2 separate regions of the Homo sapiens genome follow, and region 2 is linked to region 1. Evidence: promoter capture Hi-C in 16 types of primary human blood cells and fetal thymus (Javierre and others, 2016). All regions are on one chromosome and are shown on one strand. The core of a region is centred on a gene start or on the middle of the fragment in contact, and the rest is flanking DNA. Distances in the headings are between cores, read along the strand shown. Region 1 holds the start of CABP5 (calcium binding protein 5). Region 2 overlaps ZNF114 (zinc finger protein 114).

Evidence for each region. Contacts are between HindIII fragments. The CHiCAGO score rates a contact against its expected background, and 5 or more counts as called.
Region 2: a fragment that was not itself captured here is called in contact with the fragment with the promoter of CABP5 in region 1 in 1 of 17 cell types (total CD8 T cells); the score reaches 5.6 in total CD8 T cells.

Annotation. Positions count from the first base shown.
Region 1 is chr19:48,039,531-48,046,138 of GRCh38, forward strand. It overlaps CABP5 (calcium binding protein 5), which reads right to left and starts at 4,549. Exons shown (of 6, transcript NM_019855.5): 1 at 4,330-4,549; 2 at 2,043-2,073; 3 at 1,075-1,218. The coding sequence starts at 4,392. The HindIII fragment of the contact is 2,868 bases long and covers 3,802-6,608 here.
Region 2 is chr19:48,283,380-48,289,327 of GRCh38, forward strand. ZNF114 (zinc finger protein 114) reads left to right here. Exons shown (of 6, transcript NM_153608.4): 6 at 2,382-4,229. The coding sequence ends at 3,499. Among named protein-coding and RNA genes, the nearest start is that of ZNF114-AS1, 15 kb to the left of the region's middle. The HindIII fragment of the contact is 1,576 bases long and covers 1,353-2,928 here.

The sequences.
Region 1 (6,608 bases), core at 3,299-5,798:
GCCTGTGTGACTTTCAGACAGTTGGTTAAGATGTTTCTCCTCCTCTGTAGACCTGTACAAAGAGGAGCATGAATTAAATGAGCATACAATTTTTTTTTCAGATATGAATACTATCATTACCTTGAATTCAACCTTGTTTAGTTCGTTACATGCCCAGAAGCAAACCCAATAGCTTTTTTTTTTTTTTTTTTTTTTTTTTTTGAGACAGAGTCCCACTCTGTTGCCAAGGCTGGAGTGCAATGGTGCGATCTCGGCTCACTGCAACCTCTGCCTCCCGGGTTCAAGCGATTCTCGTACCTTAGCCTCCCGAGTAGCTGGGATTACAGGTGCACGCCATCACGCCTGGCTAATTTTTTGTATTTTTAGTAGAGACGGGGTGTCACCATGTTGCCCATGCTGTTCACAAACCCCTAACCTCAGGTGATCTGCCCACCTCAGCCTCCCAGAGTGCTGGAATTACAGGTTACAGGTGTGAGACACTGCGCCCAGCCTCAATAGGAATTTTATTCTAGCTAAAATCTAAAAATCAGTTATGATCTCCATCCAAAAATCCATCCATCCTTTTTGCAGCTGTATTCACCAACATTAGCTCCAGCTCCAAGTTTGTTTCCAACATCCAATACAGCTCCAATCTCGTGCTCCACTGATGAATCTTAGTGGTGATAGTAATAACTACCTTTAATAAGAATTTACTGGAGGCTAAGACTTTAACTGCATCAGCATCTTTATCTCTTCCTTCTCTTCCTTTCCACAGTCCCATGAGGTAAGGAGAGAGGCATCTTCCTCTATAGATGAGGAAATGGAAACTGAAGAGTAGCGGATAACTTCACTTTTCAAAATGACTGTAATTAGTAAATAATAGAACTGAGATTTGAACCCAGACCTATCTCTAAAAGCTTTTAACCACTTCAAATGCTGCCTTCCTGAGTCGAATCTGACCTGTTTTCTTCCAGACTTCTAGTCCCTCTCATCCTCCTCTCCACCCCCAACTCTACTCTTAACCTCTACATCCTTCCCAATTCTGCCCTGATCCCTTCCCTAACCCCGGCCATCCCTCCCATTCCCTGGACTCACGGTTCATGCGGATTTGCTGGCCGAGCTCAATCAGTTCCATCTCCGTGGGCATGTAACCCATCGTCCTCATGAGATTCCCCAGATCCTTACAAGAGATGAACCCATCTCGGTCCTTATCGAACTCAAGAAATGCTTCCCGCAGCTCTGAAAGTTAAGAGAGAACTTTGGGGGAACTTGAAGCAGTCAGTGGGGAAGAGTGGCATCTCTTGAAGCTATCAATGAGGCTCCAACTAGAGACTCCTTAAAGGAGCGTACATTAGAAACAAAACAAAACAAAACAAAAAAACCAAGGCCGGATGTGGTGGCTCATGGCTGTAATCCCAGCACTTTGGGAGGTCGAGGTGGGTGGATCACCTGAGGTGAGGAGTTTGAGGCCAGACTGACCAACATGGCAGAACCCCATCTCTACTAAATACAAAAAAATTAGCTGGGCATGGTGGCTCATGCCTTTGATCCCAGCTACTAGGGAGGCTGCCTCAGCCAAGGCAGAAGAATCGCTTGAACCTGGGAGGCGGAGGTAGCAGTGAGAGGAGATCGTGCCATTGCACTCCAGCCTGGCAACAAGAGCAAAACTCTGTCTCAAAAAAGAAAAAAAAATTCAAAAAGGAGTGATGTATGAAATGTGTTAGCAAAAGAGGCATCATTCCTGAGACCACTAAATGAGAGCACTGGCGTCCTTCAGATTCCTGGATGAAGTTATGGGGAACCTCAAAGTCACCAAGAGAGAAACTCATTTGTTTTCACTCCTGAGTCTTGGAGATACTTGAGGATGGATATGCCTTCGAAATACTTTGGGAAGTCCTTCAACTGCCACGAGAAAGAGTTCTACAAAATTACAGTTGAGTGGGAAGAGAGAGGGATTGTAAAAATTCCATGTAATGGAATTTATACGGAAATGCACAAAGGGACTGAGGGCAGGTCAGGTGGGTGGATGGCAACGTGGAAGCAACTGGGGAAGACGGTGTTACCTTCAATCTCATCTTGTCCCAGTGGTCTTTCCTGGAAAGGAATGCAGATGAGAGGGAATTTGGAGAGAGGGTCACCCATTCTCCAAAGGGTCTCCTTGTTCTCCCAAGCTCCTCCCCACGCTCTCGTGGTTCTCTTTCCATTCTCTCTCTCCTCCTCCATCCCTCCCATTCCTTTTCCCATCTCCTGACTCCTGTTCCACAGTTCTTGGCTCCCCACCCCCCTCTCGATGTCTCTCTCCCACCCACGAATCCCAATCTCCCTTTTTCTCCCTTTCTGAGACAAACACCCATCACATTGTGTCAAAGGGGGTCTTAAACACTGGGGAGTCCAATCTCCAGATGAAAAAAGTGAGACTTCACAACCACAGCTAACTCATTCAGAGTGGTGACTCTGTGCCAGGCAGTTTCCACAATCATTTCATTTAAACCTCAGTACTGCTCTGTGATGCAGATCTACATCTCGTTTCCATCTTACCCATGAGAAAGCTGAGGAACAGAGAGGTTAAGGAACCTGCACAAGGTCACACAGCTCACAAGCAGCAGATCCCCTCCCAAGGGAGGAAGGCATTCACCTGCTCCCTGGAGGTCATGGGGCAAGTCAGACACAGTATTGGGATTTGAATTCAGGGCTCCTGACTCCCAAGTCAGAATTCTTCACACTAGCCCCCATTCACTCCTTTCTCACCTGCCTCCAATCTTCCTGCCAAAGGTTAGAATCTCTGTGCATGGAAACAGCATTCAATGGCTTTCAGGCAGGAGGGTCAGTGCCAGCATGACCAGTTCCTAAACACTCTGAGAATGTCCAGTTATTGCTGCCCCACCTACTCCTGCACATACCTGAAGGGTTGGGCTTACATATACATGGCATGTTAACAAGGAAATTCTACTGACCTCTGGTCTCTTTAGCCTTCCCATCTCCCTTTATCCCTGGAGCCTTTCCCTCAGCTTCTCTTTCATCTGATCCCCTCCTTGCGGTCCCTTATCACCCTTTTTTTCATTCTCTCTCTCTTTTTTTTTTTTGAGACACAGTCTCGCTCTGTCACCCAAGCTGGAGTGCAGTGGCACGAACTCGGCTCACTGCAACCTCTGCCTCCCGGGTTCAAGCGATTCTCCTGCCTCAGCCTCCCGAGTAGCTGGGATTACAGGCGCCTGCCACTGCACCCGGCTAATTTTTGTATTTCTAATAGAGACAGGGTTTCACCATCTTGGCCAGGCTGGTCTTGACCTCCTGACCTCGTGATCCACCTGCTTTGGCCTCCCAAAGGGCTGGGATCACAGGCGTGAGCCACTGCCTGGCCTTTTTTATTCTCTTTTTTTGGTGATCTTAAAGCCTAACAATGAAAAGTATGCCCACATATCTGGACAAGTTGGTATATATGGAAAAATAAAAAAATTTTAAAAAGCATGCCCACAGGAATCAAGCAAACCCGACCCTGCCACTTACTTTTTTTTAACGAGACAAAGTCTCACTTTGTTGCCCAGGCTGGAGTGCAGTGGCATAATCAGGGCTCACTGCAGCCTCCACTTCCTGGGCTCAAGCGATCCTCCTGCCTCAGCCACCTGAGTAGCTGGGACTGCAGATGCATGCCACCATGCTGAGCTATTTTTTTGTATTTTTAGTAGAGATGGGGTCTTGTGTTTCCCAGGCTGGTCTCAAACTCCTGGACATAAGTGATCCTCCCGCCTCTGCCTCCCAAGATGCTGCGATTCAGGCATGAGCCACTATACTTGGCCGACCCTGCCACTTACTAACTGTGTAAGCTTAAGGCAAATGACTTCATGACTCAGAGCTTCACTTTCCTCACCTGTAAAATGGGAATGAAAGTCACTGACCTCATGAGTTGTTCTGAGGTGTAAATAACATCAGGTGTGCAAATCCCTTTGCACAGGGCTGGGCACAGAACAATGACTTAATAAGTGGCAGCTATTGTTATTAACGTCATCATTATCATCACCACCACCACCATCATCACCACCATTATCACAATGAGCATCCATAGAAAAGAATGATGGTAATCTCAACAATGACATCATCCCACTTTCCCTTTTCATTTTTCTTCCTTTTCTCTCCTTCTCTTTGCTCCTGACTTTTGATTTTACCCCCACCCATTTATCTCACTGGCTTACATGACCCCACCAGGGTCCTTGGAATTTCTTATACCTTCTCAGCTCCTGCTCTATCCACCTGTTCCCCTGGTTCTGTGGCACCATCATGTCCCCTTCTTTGTCCCACACCCCTGCTCCCTTTGCCCCGCCCACCGCCCTTCCCCCTCACTCCCCACCTCACCCGCTGTTTCTCAGCAATGCCTTTCCTCAAGAAGATGCAGGCGGGGCCCATGGGGAACTGCATGGAGGGGTGGGGTGGAGCTCGCAGGGCACCAGTCTCAAGATGGCCCCTCCTCCCTGCTCCCTGTCGGAGCTCAGCCTCCTTATCTTCTCCAGCACTCCTTTGCCACCTCTTCCTGCCTCTCTTGGCTTCTCCTTCGGTCCCGGTGTCTTAGAGCTGTGACAGCTGGGCTGGAAATCTCTACCCGGGTTGGGGAGGGACCAGAGCTGTCCCTGCCTCCCCATCTGGCTTGAATGATATGGGTGGGGAAATGCAGAGTCAGGTTCTGTGACGCCTTTATCCCCAGAGTGGAATTGGAAAGTGCATTTTATAAATGGGGATTAGAGGCTGGATGTGGTGCTCATGTCTGTAGTCCCAGCGCTTTGGGAGGCTGAGGTGGGAGGATTGCTTGAGCCCAGGAGTTTGAGACCAGCTGAGCAACATACGGAGAGGCTGTCTTTACAAAAAATAAAAAAATTAGCCGTGCATGGTGGCACACACCTGTAGTCCCAGCTGCTCCAAAGGCAGAGATGGGAGGATTGCTTGAGCCCAGGAGTTCAAGGCTGCAGTGAGCTATGATTGTACCATTGCACTCCAGGCTGCAGTGAACTACGATTGCACCATTGTACTCCAGCCTGGCTGACATAGTGAGACCCTGTCTCGAAAAAAAGAAAAAAAAAGAAAAAAAAGAAAAGAAAATGGAGGATTAGAGCAGACGGCATCATTTATTCAATGTTCCAACAAGCATGTGAAGGGTCACTCCAACACTGGCCTCTGGGCAGTGAGATGGAGAGCTCAGCACCCCTGGCCTCAGGGAGTTTTCCTGGGTGAGTCGGGAATGTGTGAGAGTGAGCAGGATGCAAGCATGGACTTCAGGAAGTGGGCGTACACGGTGACTAAGAGCATGGCATTTGCTCTTCCTCTGTTCATCTCTTTCCTTCTGTCTTTCCTGAATGATTTAGAGGGAAAAAGCAAGGTGGGGGTGTCAGGGAGGGTGTGAAGTTATGGTGGTGTCAAAGCCCAAAGGGGTTTTGCGACTCCACACTAGGTAGGGTTAGGGGAGGAGGGGGCTGGGGGCCATCTGGCGTGGAGAGCCAGCATTCCAGTGGGGTAGTGGGGTGAGGAGAAGTCCACATAGAGGGGCAGCATGACCCAGGGTGTTGGGGCTGGAGATGGTGGGGATAAATCCACAGATGGGCAGCTTGGTGTGCAGTGTTGGAACATGAGCTGAGTGGGGCGGGGGCATTTATATGCAGGCATTGTCTGGGGTGGAGGTTTGCACTGTAAGGCAATTAGGAAGGAGGCCACATAGAGGGGATCTGGCATGGGTTGTCATAACCCAAGCAGAGAGAGAAATGTCCACTCATGGGAATAGCATGGTGTATGGTGTTGAAGCCAGACTAGGCTGGGAAAGACATCCCCACAGGGGTGAAATGGCAAAGGAAAAGGGAAATTGGCTACACACAGTGAGTAAGGGGAATGGGGGCCAGGTCTCCTACTGTTGGAAAAGGGAGTTACTAAGACAGAAAGGAGGAAAGTCGAATGAGCCCTGTGGTGTTGGACTATAACTGGAGGCGTTGGTATGTCCTCATGGATCTCAATTATACATAGAGAGATAAAAATAAACACATAGTTTCAGTGTGTATAGGAACATTTGTACACATATTCTCTAGCTCTCTCCACTAAGAGAACATAGAAACAATGATGGCCCATATGAATGAGCACCACTAGCATCCAAATCTTGACTTCTATATACCATTCTCCACCAAATGGAACCAGAGTGCCTAGGAAATTTGGCTGATTCCATGTCTAGAGCAAAAAAAGAACAAGATGAGCCTACAAACGTCCTATGCTTAAAGCAAGAAATTGCTCAAAGTGTTGTGAGAACATGTGGAAAGAACACAGGAGTCTGCTTGAAGAAGCTCCATTGGCCATACTGGGCAGTTTGAGAGTCAAAATAAATAATGATAGTAACAAATTATACAGGACCACAGAAGAAACCAGGAGTCCATACTCAGATAAATAAAAAGCTAAGTGAGAAGTTTGATATTTACAGAGCTCAAAATACCTCCCTACAAAATACCAATTTCAAAGGAGTTACGTTATAGTGGAGAAACGTGGCAAACACCATCTTAGTCAATGAAAGTGGACATCATCAGTAATGTGACAAGTTGGAATTTCACACCACCTGACAGGATGTCACGAGAACAGCATCGCTTCTGTAAGATTCCTGAATCTCA
Region 2 (5,948 bases), core at 891-3,390, 240 kb after region 1:
TGTCCATTTGACAGAAAGTCTCGGCACAGTTCCTTTATACCACATGCTTGCCCAGTGAGCAGGATTTCAACTAGGCAAACCCAGTCTGCCCTCTCATTTGGAGCAAGAAGTGGTCTGAAAACAGTGCAGGGCAGTTTTGTCCAGGCATTTATGCATCTCAGTACCAGGTAGATGTGAACATTACAGGACCAACAGGTTTGTAAGCCAGCAGCATGGTAACAGAGCAACAGGCTCGCCACTGAGACAGCAGGGTTTGCAACAGAGAAAAGAGAAAGTTGCATGATTACATGGTGCCAACCGAGGAGATGGGAGGAGACGCTCAAATTCTTCTCCCTGGGGGGTTCTGGGGTTTTTGTTTTTTTTTTGTTTTTGAGACTGTGTTTCACTCTTGTTGCCCAGGCTGGAGTGCAGTGGCGCGATCTCGGCTCACTGCAACCTCCACCTCCCGGGTTCAAGCAATTCTTCTGCCTCAGCCTCCCGAGTAGCTGGGATTATAGACATGCACCACCATACCTGGCTAATTTTTGTATTTTTAGTAGAGACGGGGTTTCACTGTGTTGGCCAGGCTTGTCTCAAACTCCTGACCTCAAGTGCTCCGCCCACCTCGGCCTCCCAAAGTGTTGGCATTACAGGCATGAGCCACTGCTCTCATTTTTAAGGGGATCATGGAGGATAAGGGACTGGAGAATTGGAGACGTTGATTGGTCAGAGGAAGGGGGATGAAATCATCGGGATGAGGAAAGTACATTCTTTGGTGCGTCAGTTTCTCACGGCATTCCTCAGATCAGTGAGCATAGTCATTTCATCAGAATGCAGGACCTGAAGGAATATCTCAAAGAGAAAACTTAATGTTTTATAATTTTCAAGTTGTTATCTACAGAGCAGCTAAGGAGACCTATAGGCCAGGCACAGTGGCTCACACCTGTAATCCTAGCACTTTGGGAGGCTGAGGCAGGAGGAGGATTACTTGAGGCCAGGAAGTCGAGACCAGCCCAGCCAACATGGCAAAACACTGTTCTTTTTGTCTTTAAAAACAATTTTTTTTTAATTAAAAGGAAAAAAAAAGAAAGAAAAAAACAGGCACTCTGTTGCCCAGGCTGGAGTGCAGTGGCTCAGTCTCAGCTCACTGCAATCTCTGCCTGCCGGATTCAAGTGATTCTCCTGCCTCAGCCCCCTGAGTAGCTGGGATTACAGGCACACGCCACCATGCCCAGCTAATTTTTCTATTTTTAGTAGAGACGGGGCTTCACCACATTGGCCAGGCTGGTCTCAAACGCCTGACCTCTGGTGATCCACCCACTTCAGCCTCTCAAAGTGCTGGGATTACAGGCGTGAGCCACTGTGCCTGTCCAAGCTTATGTTTTTTGACTTTTATCCATCCTCTCATATTTTCATTTTTCCCTGCTAAAGGCCTGTTCCTTTTCTCCTTAAAATTGCACATGGAGCCAGCTACTCGGGAGACTGAGGCAAGAGGATCACTTGATCCCAAGAGCTCAAGGCTGCAGTGTGCTGTGATCACACCTATGAATAGCCAGCCACTGCACTCCAGCACCTGGGCAACCTAGTGACACCCTCATCTCAAAAAAATAAAAATTTCACATGGACTCTCTGTCCAATTCTCTTCCACTTAGAATTCCTGATCGTTTCCTTGATCTCTGCAGAACTGTTCCTCAGTAACATGACACTCTCCATGTTGAACCCCTGACCTTACCGTCATCACATTCCTGACACTGCAGAATCTCTGATGTCTTTCTCTGCTTCCTTCCTCTTGCTTTCTTCCCCTTCACATTTTTATCATACATGTTGAGTGAACATTTAGAAAGAAATCCACACAGAGGCCTGGCGCGTTGGCTCATGCCTGTAATCCCAGCACTTTGGGAGGCTGAGGCAGGTGGATCACATGAGGCCAGGAATTCAAGACCAGCCTGGCCAACATGGTGAAACCCCATCTCAACTGAAAACACAAAAATTAGCCAGGCATGGTGGCACGCACCTGTAATCTCAGCTACTCAGGAAGCTGAGGCCAGAGAATTGCTTGAACCTGGGAGGCGGAGGTTGTAATGAGCCAAGATCATGCCACTGCACTCCAGCCTGGGCCACAGAGTAAGACTCTGTCTAAAGAAAAGAGAGAAAGACAGAGAGAACGAGAGAGAGAGAGAGGAAAGAAGGAAGGAAGGAAGGAGGAAGGAAGGAAGGGAAAGAAAGAGAAAAGAAAGAAAGGAAGGAAGGAAGGAAGAAAGAAAGGATGGAAGGAGCGAGGGAGGGAGGGAAAGAAAGAAAGAAAGAAAGAGAGAAATCCACACGGAGATTGCCTATGTCATCATCTCTAACCCACCTTTACTTTCAACAAAGAATTTAACTTTTGTGCCACTGTATTTCAGATTGGGCAACTCCATGTAAAACCAAAGACGCAACCCCTCAGCCGGATATTCTTCCTAAAAGAACATTTCCTGAAGCCAACAGAGTGTGTCTCACGAGCATCAGTTCCCAGCACTCCACATTAAGAGAAGACTGGAGATGCCCCAAAACAGAGGAACCACACAGGCAGGGGGTGAATAATGTGAAGCCACCTGCAGTTGCCCCTGAGAAAGATGAATCTCCTGTTAGCATTTGTGAAGATCATGAAATGAGGAACCACTCTAAACCTACCTGCAGGCTTGTGCCTTCACAGGGAGATTCCATAAGACAATGTATCCTAACACGTGACTCAAGTATTTTCAAGTATAATCCTGTCTTAAACGATAGTCAAAAAACACATGAAAACAACGAAGACGATGGAGTCTTGGGGTGGAACATTCAGTGGGTTCCGTGTGGGAGAAAAACAGAGCTGAAATCAAGCACATGGACTGGCAGTCAGAACACTGTGCATCATATACGTGATGAAATTGATACGGGGGCCAACAGGCACCAGCGGAATCCATTTGGAAAAGCTTTCCGTGAAGACGGATCCCTTAGGGCACACAACACTCATGGTCGAGAGAAAATGTATGATTTTACTCAGTGCGAGAACACCTCCAGAAATAACTCAATTCACGCCATGCAGATGCAGTTGTATACCGCAGAGACAAACAAGAAGGATTGTCAAACTGGGGCAACCTCTGCCAACGCTCCAAATTCCGGTTCACACAAGAGTCATTGCACTGGAGAGAAAACCCATAAATGCCCCGAATGTGGGAGAGCCTTTTTTTATCAGTCATTCCTTATGAGACATATGAAAATTCACACTGGAGAGAAACCGTATGAATGTGGGAAATGTGGGAAAGCCTTTAGATATTCCTTACACCTTAATAAACATTTAAGAAAGCATGTTGTGCAGAAGAAGCCCTACGAATGTGAAGAATGTGGGAAAGTCATTCGGGAGTCCTCAAAATATACACATATAAGGAGCCACACTGGAGAGAAACCCTATAAATGTAAGACATGTGGAAAAGACTTTGCAAAGTCGTCAGGACTTAAAAAACATCTTAAGACTCACAAAGATGAGAAGCCCTGTGAATGAAAGGAAGGTGGAAAATTTTTCATTAATTTTCTGACTGTACCAAACATGTGAGGAGGACATATTGGAAGGGAGCTCAAGGGGTTAGCATGAGTGAGAACATCTTCCCTGAACTCTCGTATCTTACAGAAATGTGAAAAAAAACCCTGTGAAGGTAAAGTCTACAGAAAGCCTTTCATCTTCATTCATCTTGAGTAGACATTTGTTCTCACCCTGGAGAGAAACTGCGAATCTAAAAGGAATATGACAAAGCCTTCAGCGTGGTCTCAAATTCATGGTTCATACAAGAACTCACACTGCAGAGACTCCTTACGGAAATAAAAAATGTAGGAAAGACCTGCCGGCCGCGGTGGCTCATGCCTGTAATCCCAGCACTTTGGGAGGCCGAGGCGGGCGGATCACGAGGTCAGGAGATCAAGACCATCCTGGCTAACACGGTGATACCCCGTCTCTACTAAAAATACAAAAAAAATTAGCCAGGCGTGGTGGCAGGTGCCTGTAGTCCCAGCTACTTGGGAGGCTGAGGTAGGAGAATGGTGTAAACCTGGGAGGTGGAGCTTGCAGTGAGCCGAGATGGAGCCACTGCACTCCAGCCTGGGGGAAAGAGCGAGACTCCGTCTCAAAAAAAAAAAAAAGTAGGAAAGACCTCTTTAAACACTTACCACTCATGTTGCATGTGAATCCACATCCTGAAGGGAGGCTACAACTGGAATAAAAATAAGAAAGCTTTCAAGGCCTGGTGCAGTGACTCACACCTGTAATCCTAGCACTTTGGGAGTCCAAGGTGGGGGATTGCTTGAGTCCAGGAGTTTGAGACCAGCCTGGGCAACATGGAGAAACCCCATCTCTACAAAAAAAAAAAAAAAAATGCAAAAATTAACCAGGAGTGGTAGCACATGCCTGTAGTCCCAGCTACCTGGGGAGCTGAGGCAGGAGGATCGCTTGAGCCTGGGAGCTTGAGGCAGCAGTGAGCTGTGTTTGCACCACTGCACTCCACCCTGGGTGACAAAGTGACACCCTGTCTCAAAAAAAAAAAGAAAGCTTTCAGGTCCAGCCTTTCACTTAGGCACAATGAGCGCACAGTAGGACTGAAACACTGTAAATGTTCATGATTTTCCAGTTTTTCCTTTCTAAAAAAAAAAATGCTACAAGATGAAGGATATCCCTCTTTGCACACTCCCAGCTCTGCCACATAAATGTTGGTATATAGCAGGTTCATTATAACTCACATACACGTGGTCTCATTTTCAATGTGAAGCCTTCTTTGAGCCTCATTCAATTTAGACTTGGGATTCATATACTCCATGATACCATTTTTGTCTTATTGGTCACTGTTCAACTGCATTATGGTCAGAGTATGTGGTCTTTCTGGTACCAACTTGGGTTACTTGTTATGACTTTGTCAGTCTAATGTGCCCTATTCTGTCAACTTCCCTGCCACCTCCATTCTTCTCATCTTCTTTACTAAGGGCACATAGATTCACTTTCCACAATGAGCACTATTTAATGTCTTATTTTTATTTTTATTTTATTTATGTATGTATTTATTTTGAGACAGAGTCTTGCTCTGTCACCCAGGCTGGAGAGCAGTGGGGCAATCTCGACTTACTGCAACCTCTGCCTCCTGGGCTCAAGTGATTCTCCTGCCTCACCCTCCCGAGTAGCTGGGATTACAGACACCCACCACCACGCCCAGCTAATTTTTCTATTTTTAGTAGAGACGAGATTTCACCACGCTGGCCAGGCTGGTCTCAAACTCCTGACCTCAAGTGACCTGCCTGCCTTGGCCTCCCAAAGTGCTGGGATTACAGGCATAAGCCACTGTGCCCGGCCTCTTTTCAATCTTTTAAAAGTTGGGAAACGGCCGGGCATGTTGGCTCATGCCTGTCACCCCAGCACTTTGGGAGGCCAAGGTGGGCGGATCGCCTGAGGTGAGGAGTTCGAGACCAGCCTGACCAACATGGAGAAACCCCATCTCTACTAAAAATATAAAATTAGCCAGGTGTGGTGGCTCACGCCTGTAATCCCAACTACTCAGGAGGCTGAGGCAGGAGAATTGCTTGCATCTGGGAGGCGGAGGTTGCGGTGAGCCGAGATTGTGCCATTGCACTCCAGCCTGGGCAACAAGAGTGAAACTTATCTCAAAAAAAGTAAAAATAAAAATAATAAAAAATAAAAGTTGGGAAATATGACTACCTGAAAATGCATGAAAATGTACATATACATTTTTTTTTTCGAGATGGAGTTTTGTTCTTGTTGCCCAAGCTGGAGTGCAGTGGCGTGATCTCCGCTTACTGCAACCTCTGCCTCCCAGGTTCAAGTGATTCTCCTGCCTCAGCCTCCTGAGTAGCTGAGATTACAGGCACCTGCCACCACGACATTTCAAAGTTAATAAAGTGATCACCCTTATACCCACCATCCAAGCCCGTAAACAGCTCATCATTAAACACCA